Regions from separate parts of the Homo sapiens genome. Here regions 1 and 2 are each linked to region 3. The links are contacts of gene promoters, found by promoter capture Hi-C in human tissues and cell types (Jung and others, 2019). All regions are on one chromosome and are shown on one strand. The core of a region is centred on a gene start or on the middle of the fragment in contact, and the rest is flanking DNA. Distances in the headings are between cores, read along the strand shown. Region 1 has its middle 15 kb from the start of PRR14. Region 2 holds the start of ZNF688 (zinc finger protein 688). Region 3 holds the start of TAOK2 (TAO kinase 2).

Evidence for each region. The method cuts DNA at HindIII sites, captures the fragments that hold promoters and counts their contacts. A contact is called where the count stands out against the background at its distance.
Region 1: a contact is called between a fragment that was not itself captured here and the fragment with the promoter of TAOK2 in region 3, in 1 of the 25 tissues and cell types used here (hippocampus).
Region 2: the fragment with the promoter of ZNF688 here is called in contact with the fragment with the promoter of TAOK2 in region 3 in 2 of the 25 tissues and cell types used here (aorta and hippocampus).

Annotation. Positions count from the first base shown.
Region 1 is chr16:30,634,481-30,637,782 of GRCh38, reverse strand. No RefSeq gene overlaps it. Among named protein-coding and RNA genes, the nearest start is that of PRR14, 15 kb to the left of the region's middle. RefSeq lists an enhancer at 2,415-3,302. The HindIII fragment of the contact is 7,557 bases long and covers 1-3,302 here.
Region 2 is chr16:30,570,393-30,573,585 of GRCh38, reverse strand. It overlaps ZNF688 (zinc finger protein 688), which reads left to right and starts at 1,872. Exons shown (of 3, transcript NM_145271.4): 1 at 1,872-2,152; 2 at 2,463-2,576; 3 at 3,150-3,193. The coding sequence starts at 1,957. RefSeq lists a silencer at 1,865-2,104 and an enhancer at 2,967-3,193. The HindIII fragment of the contact is 17,900 bases long and covers 1-3,193 here.
Region 3 is chr16:29,972,310-29,975,733 of GRCh38, reverse strand. It overlaps TAOK2 (TAO kinase 2), which reads right to left and starts at 1,866. Exons shown (of 16, transcript NM_016151.4): 1 at 1,086-1,866. TMEM219 (transmembrane protein 219) reads right to left here. Exons shown (of 6, transcript NM_001083613.2): 6 at 2,686-2,784. LOC124903762 reads right to left here and starts at 2,112. Exons shown (of 2, transcript XM_047435036.1): 1 at 1,954-2,112; 2 at 1,099-1,737. The coding sequence starts at 2,112. The coding sequence ends at 1,099. RefSeq lists enhancers at 776-905, 612-1,383 and a silencer at 1,807-2,176. The HindIII fragment of the contact is 10,689 bases long and covers 1-2,429 here.

The DNA of each region.
Region 1 (3,302 bases), core at 312-2,811, 660 kb before region 3:
TTTTTTGTATTTTTAATAGAGACGGGGTTTCACCGTGTTAGTCAGGATGGTCTTGATCTCCTGACCTTGTGATCTGCCCGCCTCGGCCTCCCAAAGTGCTGGGATTACAGGCTTGAGCCACCGCGCCCGGCCTTACTATTATGTTTTTTTGCGATGGAGTTTCACTCTTGTTGCCCAGGCTGGAGTGCAATGGTGCGATCTTGGCTCACTGCAAGCTCTACCTCCTGGGTTCAAGTGATTCTCCTGCCTCAGCCTCCTGAGTAGCTGGGATTACAGGCGGATGCCACCACGCCCGGCTAATTTTTTTTTTTTTTTTTTAGAGTTTCGCTGTTGTCCAGGCTGGAGTGCAATGGCACGATCTCAGCTCACTGCAACTTCCGCCTTCCCAGTTTAAGCGATTCTCCTGCCTCAGCCTCCTGAGTAGCTGGGATTACAGGCACCTGCCACCACGCCCAGCTAATTTTTTGTATTTAGTAGAGAAGGGGTTTCACCATTTTGGCTAGGCTGGTCTCCAACTCCTGACCTCAGGTGATCTACCCACCTTAGCCTCCCAAAGCGCTGGATTATGGACATGAGCCAATGCGCCTGGGCAGAAATGTGGTTTTTTTTTTTTTTTTTTTGAGACTGAGTCTCACTCTATCACCCAGGCTGGAGTGCAGTGGTGCGATCTCAGCTTGCTGCAACCTCTGTCTCCTGGGTTCAAGCTATTCTCGTGCCTCAGCCGCCTGAGCAGCTGGAATTACAGGTTCACACAACCACACCCAGCTAATTTTTGTATTTTTAGTACAGATGGGGTTTCATCATGTTGGCCAAGCTGGTCTTGAAGTCCTGACCTCAAGTGATTGGCCCGCCTTGGACTCCCAACGTGCTGGGATTACAGGCATAAGCCACCGCACCTGGCCAGAAATGTACTTTTAAAATGAAGGGTGGCCGGATGCAGTGGCTCACTCCTGTAATCCCAGCACTTTAGGAGGCTGAGGCATGAAGATTGCTTGAAACAGGAGTTCGAGACCAGACTGGACAACACAGTGAGGCCCCGTTTCTGGGCACACTTGTGATTTCAGGCACAAGTCACCACGTGGGGGCTTCATCTAATTATTACCTCTGTATATTTTCCATGGTTTCCCATCTTTTACCTCTTTCATTACTACTGCATTTGTTTAGATTCTATCATCCTTGAAGGTCCAGCTGCAACAGCAGCCCCACCCATGCGTCGAAGCCTTCTGAGGTCTTTCCTTCTTCTGAGCTTCTAGGGCATCTTTTACTGTCCCTTCTGCCCTCCAATTGTGCCACCACCAGCCTGGCCAACATGGCGAAACGCCACCTGCTAAAAATACAAAAATTAGCCGGGTGTGGTGGCACATGCCTGTAATCCCAGCTACTCAGGAGGCTGAGGCAGGAGAATTGCTTTAGCTCTGGGAGGCGGAGGCTGTAGTAAGCTGAAATAGTGCCACTGCACTCTAGCCTGGATGACAGAGACTCTGTCTCTAAATAAATAAATAAATAAATAAGCAGGGCTCGGTGGCTCACACTTGTACTCCCAGCACTTTGGGAGGCTGAGGTGGGTGGATCACCTGAAGTCAGGAATTCGAGACTAGCCCGGCCAACATGGTGAAACCCTGTCTCTACTAAAAATACAAAAATTAGCCAAGCATGGTAGTGCGCACCTGTAATCCCAGCTACACGGGAAGCTGAAGCAGGAGAATCGCTTGAACCTGGGAGGCAGAGGTTGTAGTGAGCTGAGATCGCATCATTGCACTCCAGCCTAGGCAACAAGAGCGAGACTCCATCTCAAAACAAACAAAACAAACAAACAAACAAAATGCTGCTCACCTCAGAGGACTAGATGGAGAATTTTTTTTTTTTTGAGTCGGAGTTTTGTTCTTGTTGCCCAGGCTGGAGTATAATGGTGCGATCTCAGCTCACTGCAACCTCTGCCTCCCGGGTTCAAGCGATTCTCCTGCCTCAGCCTCCCGAGTAAGTGGGATTACAGGCATGCGTCACCACGCCCGGCTAATTTTGTATTTTTAGTAGAGACGGGGTTTCACAATGTTGGTCGGGCTGGTCTTGAACTCCTCACCTCAGGTGATCCGCCCGCCTCAGACTCCCAGAGTGCTGGGATTACAGGTGTGAACCACCGTGCCCTGCCTGGATGGGGATAGTTTTGTAAACTATAGAGTGCCCCCAATTTTTAGTAAAGTTACAAAGAATTTTCACACATTTTGAGTTTTATGGAGCTAGAATGCACATCACAAATACACCTATTTGAAGTGTACAATTCAATTTTTGTGCTAGCATGAAAATTTTAGTGCACTTTCATGACCACAAAAAGAAACTGCATATTCATTAGCATTCACTCCCCATTCCCCCTAGTCCTTCTTTTTTTCCCTGGGCCATAGCGTCTGGCCAATGAAACGGATTTTTGTGCTAGCGCGGCCACAATCAGTACTAGTACATTTTCATCACCCCAGAAAGAACCTCTGTATTTATTAGCATTCACTCCCCTTTCCCCGAGTCCTTCTATAGATTTGTGTATTCTAGATATTTCATATTTTATAAAACACCTTCACACATTTTTACTTGACTTCCAGGATTTTTCTTTTCTCTCTTTTTTTTTTTTGAGACAGAATTCCGCTCTTGTTGCCCAGGCTGGAGTGCAATGGCGCGATCTCGGCTCACCACAACCTCTGCCTCCCGGGTTAAAGCGATTCTCCTGCCTCAGCCTCCAGAGTAGCTGGGATTACAGGCATGCGCCACTACGCCCGGCTAATTTAGTAGAGACGGGGTTTCTCCATGTTGGTCAGGTTGGTCTCGAAGTGTGATCCGCTCAAAGTGCTGGGATTACAGGCGTGAGCCACCGTGCCCAGTCCAGGAGGATTTTTCTTTGTAAGAACCTTTTACAATGATCTGTGGGGGTCCATCCCTCCTATTTTACAGGAGAAAATAGACGGTTATCTAGGCTTTGTGAGTGCCAAGTTCGCACGCGGCTTTCGACTCCGTGGCTACATTGTCGGGCCGGGATTTCGCGATTTCGAGGAGGGATGCTCGGCCTCCTCCTACTAGCGTGGTTGGGGCCTCGGCCAGGGCCGAGTTCCGCGGGGGAGAGCCCCAGGGTTCTGCCACCGCACCGTTGACCTAGAATGCACGTGGGGACAGCCAAAGGTCCAGTCTCCAGTCTCGGAACCCGCGGGCCCCCGAACACGTCTGCCTGCTTGGTCTTCTTTGAACCCAAGTCCCACCGCCCACCAGGATCCTAATGACGCCGGCCTGGGGAACTCCCACGCACGCGCCGTTCAAACGCC
Region 2 (3,193 bases), core at 623-3,122, 600 kb before region 3:
GCAGGGACCTGGTAGGCCTTGCTTGTTATCTCCAGCAACCAGCCCCACGCTTAGCAAACAGTATTCTGCATCCTGTATGATTGCAGGTATATTCCAAATGTGGGGATGAAGGCAACTAGTATTTACAGTCCAATGCCACCAGCCATGAGGATGACCCATCTTGGCTGAAAAATAAAGACCTTAAATCTAGGAAGCGGAAGATACAACCCAGGACAGCAGGAAGGGGAGACCCGGTATGAGAAGAACTGAGGCCCAACCCAGTTTAGAGAGGAGACTGAAGGCTAAAGGAGGAAGGTTTCCCAGGAAAAAAAAAATTAGGATTTGAAAGTTGATGCTATCTTTGATAATTTGGAACAACGTAAATAAGTAGAAATGGCAGGGCCGGGCGCCGTGGCTCACGCCTGTAATCCCAGCACTTTGGGAGGCTGAGGCGGGAGGATCACCTGAGGTCGGGAGTTCGAGACCAGCCTGACTTAATATGGAGAAACCCCGTCTCTACTAAAAATACAAAATTAGACGGGCATGGTGGCTCATGCCTGTAATCCCAGCTACTTGGGAGGCTGAGGCAGGAGAATCGCTTGAACCTGGGAGGCGAAGGTTGCGGTGAGCCTAGATAGCGCCATTGCACTCCAGCCTGGGCAAGCCGAGATAGCGCCATTGCACTCCAGCCTGGGCAACAAGAGTAAAACTCCTTCTCAAAGAAAAAGTAGAAATGGCTGGGAACCGTGGCGCATGCCTGTAATCACAGCACTTTGGGAGGCCGAGGCAGGAGAATTGCTTGAGGCCAGGAGTTCCAGACCAGCCTGGGCAACATAGCAAGACCCTGTCTCTGTTTTAAAATTTAAAAATTAGCCAAGCATTGGGTGTGCGCCTGTGGTCCCAGCTACTCGGGAGGCTGAGGTGAGAAGATCGCTTCAGCCCGGGAGGTCGAGTCTGCAGTGAGCTAGGATCGCACTGCTGGGCCACAGAGCAAGACCCTGTCTCAAAACAAACAAAAAATAAATTCATGTATGTTAGCAACAATTACTATTTAATTTAAAACTTCCCCATTCCGATTCCATCCTCACCAAGCACGTTCCTTCGCCTGCAGCTTCGGTCTAGAGCCTGAGCGAGCCGAGCTGCGGATGCCAGGGGCTGGGTGGACTCCGCAGCTAAGCTACTGTAAAACACGCACCTGCTTCTACCGCGGGTGTACACATGGTTTGCCAGGGTGTGCGCGTCTTCCCAAGGGGTCTGGGGACCAAATTCCAGCTCCCGCCATCGGGAGGCACGGTAAGAGACCGTAGGGGACACAATCCCGAGCACCGCAGATGCCGAGGTCTCCGCTGCGCTCCAGTCTGTCAACAGAGGCTTCAGGACCGCGGGGTCCCTTCAAATGCCCCGCCAGTCCCAGGCCAATCACCGCGCAGCTTCTTCCGGGATCGTCGCCAATCATCGGCCGTTGCGTATTGCGGGTACAGAGGGGTAAGTGAAGCTTCGGGCCCTTACATCTTTCTTGAAGGCAAGAAGCCTCTCCTCTACTTCCCAGACACCCCGCCTCCCCCACTAGAAAAAGCAGCCGAAGCGGCTTTATTTAAGGGCAAGTGGGACGATGAGGCCAGAGAAGTCAGAAAGGCTCCATATTTGATATGGTCAAATAATGGCGCCCTTAAGAGCAGCCTGTGACAATTGAAGGGTGGTCGCCATATTTTCAGAAGGCACCTTCCGGGTCCCTTAACCCGGGTGTCTATGTCCAAGCGGCCATGAAGTGAATAAACACTGAGGAATTATATTTGTCCCTATCAGAATCCTCGAATCCCTAGCAGCCAGTCCCTGCTACTTCGGTTGCCTCGGCTGCGTTCGGACGCCACGGCTGGGCGGGGCCGCCCTTCCTGTGGACAACGACAGCTGAGGCCGGGAGCGGGGAGGCGGCGGCTCCAGGGACCTGGCGGCCGCCGATCGGGGCTGCGAGGCCCCATGGCGCCGCCCCCAGCCCCGCTCCTGGCGCCGAGGCCCGGGGAGACCCGGCCTGGTTGCAGGAAGCCCGGGACTGTGAGCTTCGCGGACGTGGCCGTGTACTTCTCCCCGGAGGAGTGGGGCTGTCTGCGGCCCGCGCAGAGGGCTCTGTACCGGGACGTGATGCAGGAGACCTACGGCCACCTGGGCGCGCTCGGTGAGAGCCCCGGGTCCGAGCCCCCTCCTCCTTCACCGGGTTCACAGGGGAGATGATGTAGAAGGGCCGAGAGGACTGTGAGCCCTAATCCCGCACTCTTGCACCAACACCAGCAGCCACCTCCCGTTCCCAGGGCTTCAGGTACCCCCTCGGGAGTGTTTTCACCCGCATCCATTTCATTCAGGCAGCAGCACTGCAGCCCCTTCCAGGTTGAGTATAAGCTCCGAGGGGGTGCCCTCAGCCTGGAGGGGAATGCCATCTTCCCACGATGGCCTCTCAGGCCCGCGCTGTGATCCCTGTTCTCTCCCAGGATTCCCAGGCCCCAAACCAGCCCTCATCTCTTGGATGGAACAGGAGAGTGAGGCTTGGAGCCCCGCCGCCCAGGATCCTGAGAAGGGGGAAAGACTGGGAGGAGCTCGGAGAGGTGAGGGATAGTCCCGGGTCCCCCCACTTGGTTTTCCAGGGCTTCCTGTCTAGCAGAGTTTCTTTTCAGGCCCCCACTTCCAGCATCCCTAAAGAAATTCAACTGTGTTGGGTACTAGAGGAGTAAAGAAGGCAGACCTGGTACAAAGTTTTCAGAACATGGGACAGCGGTCCTGTGAGGACTGGGAGCCCAGTCCAACCAGGCACTCCAGCCTGGGTGACAGAGTGAGACTCCGTCTCAAAAATAAATAAATAAATAAATAAATAAATAAATAAATAAATAAATAATAGCCCCTGCTTCCTGAGCACTTCCTAAGTGCTTAACATGCATCTACTCAGCTAAACCAGTAACGCTGTGAAGTCAAAAGCCATTATTATTCCCATTTGATGCATAAGGAACCAAGGCTCAGATAAGGCACTTTTAGGAGATCTGAATCCTGTTTACCTTGTTCTAAAGCCTGTGTGTTAATCACTGGACAGAACTTCCCTCACTGCCTTAAGTGAAAAGCATTCTATAACCTGAGACAGTCTGTGCAAAAGTGTTTGTAAGTGTAACTTAATTCCGGTTTCCCAGGAGATGTCCCAAACAGGAAGGAAGAGGAACCGGAGGAAGTCCCA
Region 3 (3,424 bases), core at 617-3,116:
TACCCCAACAGCTTGGCTTGAACAGTTAAAAGATGCCACTAGTGCTACCATTTGTCAGGAGAGAGCCCTCTCAGGAATCCAGGCCAAACCCTGGGATTGGGGTAAAGATGAAGGTCACAGTGGATAGAAAACTCCATGAGGCAGAGGCAAAAGCCAGAGGCTCCCATCAGGAAAAGCTTCTGAGTAGAGCCCTCCTGGAAAGGAAGCTCATCTCATCCCCATTCTTAAACCTCACCCCAGCCTGGACTCCTAGGGACCCCTGGCCGAGCCCAAACTCAGAGGAAAAGAGATGGCAAGAACCAGGCATGCATCAGGGAAAGATGTGATTGAGGACTTGAGTTCAAATTCTGGTTCTGCCACTGTGTGACCTTGGGCAACCTCTCTCGGCCTCAACGTTCTCAACTGTAAAATGGGAAGATGCCAATAAAAGAGGCCCCCACAGGGTGAATGCGGGGATGTCACATGAGAGAATGGCTGTCAAAGCACTTTGTAAAAGACAGATCGTTTGACAAATGGATGAGATTATTGACACCATCACAGCAAGAGGTTGGAAGGTAACTGCAGCTGGGGGAAAACATTGCCAGGCACCTCCAAGCACACACACACACGCATACACACAAACACATATACACACACTTCCTTGCAAGGACAAGAAATCCAACCAGACCAGGCCTGAAAAGCAGATAAGCAGACCCACCATGGGAATCAGAGGCATGGGAATCAAAACCACAGAATAGCCAGGAGAACGGGACATATCAGGGAGGAGAGGTGGCTGTGAGGGGCAAAGTGAAGGAGAGAAGACTGAAGTGCAAATCCATCTGATTAGCTGAAGCACCCTAGGGTGTGAACGCCGGTGACATCAGAGACCCTGTCACCTGAGGTCCCCCACCAACCAGACACAATGAAGGGAAGAGGAAGGGGAAGGGGGTGGCAACAGAAGGCAAGGCTAGCCAGAGGCTGACCACTCGCTCAGCTGGGCTTCCCCATCCTGAGAGGGCCTACCCAAGTCCAGCTTCTCAGAAAGGCGCACCCTTTCTTCTCAGAACTAGACACAGGGACCCGCGCCCCTGCACCCCGTGTCTCACCTGGTAGGGGTCACTATGGTGCCCCAGCGCCTCCGCTTCCGCCTGGGGTCCTCCAGCGGCTCTGCCAAGCAGGGAGAGGGGCAAGGAGACCTTTCCCCTTGCCACCTCTTCCTCGGCTTTCGCCCTTCCTGAGGGGCGGGCCCGGGAAGCCTCCCCTGGAGGGGAGGGGGTGACAACCTAATCTGACCTCGCGGTCCAGTCCTCCCCCTCGTCGAGGGCGACAGCTGCCGAATTCCGGATTTCTGATTGTGGGGTCTGAACCCCGAATATCTGAACGGGATGGAGACTGAATCCGATATTTGAACGCCCGGGGAATGAACCCCGGATACTGGTGCACGCAGGGGCCTGAACCTGATATTTGAAATTCTATGAAACAGAGACCCAGGTTTAGAGAGGTTGGGACCCGAGTCCCGGATATCTGGACTATGAGGACTGTTACCCGGGTATCTGAGAAAGGAGGAGGGGCAAAGCCTGGAAATTTGGGACCCAGGGGCCTGAGCTGTAGGTCTTCGGCCACCGACTGGGGGCCCACCCCGAGGACGTCCGGCCGCACGGCCCCTCTCACGCCGGGGTCCGAGGGTGACAGCCCCCACTCCCGCCCCGGCCTCCTCCCTCTCCCTTCTCTCTTCCGAGAATAGCTGAACGATTGTAGCTAAGGTGCTGCTGACGGTCCCCGCGCCCTCTCTGCCTCTCCTCTTCTCCGTCTCAGCCTCTCTCCGCACCACAGCCCCGGTCTCGTCCCGGTCTCCCTCTCCCTCTTCCTCCCAATTCCAAGATGGAGACCGGGCGGGAGCGCGCAGGCGCGGTAGGGACGCCGGGCTAAAGGGGGCGGGGGCGCAGAGGACTCAGCCCCGCCCTCTCTCCTCACTGCCGCGGCCTGGGAGACCGGCAGCCGCCAAGCCCGAGTGCGCGCCCGCCCCGCCACGCGGACCCCAGGCCGGAGGAGGCGGGGAGAAGAGCTAGACTTGCAAGGGGAGGAGCCCGGCACTCTGTCCCACGACTGGCGGTGGACAGAGCTGCAGCGCATGCGCTCGCCCCGCCTTCGCTCTGAGCCCGAGCTTGTTGCTAGGGGAAGCTTTGAGGGGGCGCGGGTGGACGGACAGCAGCGGCGATCTGCGACTGCGCGCAGGGTGGAAGTTGGGAGGGGCAAAGGAAGCTGCTGCTGGGCGCGGAAAAGGCGGGAAAATAGACTGCTCCGAGGTTAGCAACCATCTAACCTGGAAAAGGGCCTCCAAGTGCGAGGAATCTTTGCGCGTCGACGCTGGGAAAACTCAATCGGTCAAATCTCTTACGGAAATTGAGGCGCTGCAGGTTGCAAGACTTGCCAAGGTCACAGTGCATTTATGTCACAGCATTTCCATGACCTGACACCCCACCCGCCCAACTAACTGTAATTATCCATTTTATTTCGTAGAAGAAAACAAGACAGGTGTTTACCAAAGCCAAGTCAACCATGGGGAGAGCTCAAGTAACCTATGCCCTATGCCAACCTGTGTCCAAACTAGAGAGTCAACAGGAAAGAGTCCCCCAAAACTTCTAAGCCTGCCTACCCTAAAATCCCCACCTCAATCCAACCCCCAATAAACACCATACACGCCACTGGGCAAAAAAGCTTTTTATTTTCCCCCACATTCCAGCTCTTCACTTTTTCTAAAACCTTTTCCAACTCAGAGCCAAGGCCCAAGAAGTTGATTCACACCTGGGGAGAAAGAAAATAAAACAACAAAACAGGTCGAAGAGCTGCTAGAGGAAGCTCTGAGATGTGTGCAGAAATTGAGGAAGGAGCAGAGGGAGTGACAGCTAGAGACCAATACGGGCATTTAATCCCAACTAAGGTAGCCTCAGGACCCCAGGGTCTGTCAGGGGCCAGGAAGCCCTCCTTTCCCAGTCCAAGGTTGAGAGGGTCCTGTCATTTCCTGTCCCAAGTAGGTGGTTGGGGCATTTAGGCCCAGCCATCAGCAAAATAAGCACAGTTGATCTTGAGCTTCCACTTCCTCTGGCCTGATCAGTTCCCTGGGCCTCAACTATTTCCACTTTTCCCATAGTAACTTCCTAGGGCACTGCAGCCAGCTGAAGCTGAGACCAGTTCAAGAGCTGGATGCATAACACATGGCTCTCAAATTTCATGCACCCCCCTCTGACAAGTGAAGATTTTTTGCAGAAATATTTTTTCCTTTAGTGAGCTGATGTGTGAACTGGTTAACCAACATGACCCCCACCCACTGCTACGTTTGTGAAGCTGATTCCCTCCAAAGATCTTGTTAACGGAATCAGCTTTTTCTAAAGGTAACGATGACTAAATGGAAGACAGAAGGTGCATGTCAAGTTCTTGGGCACAT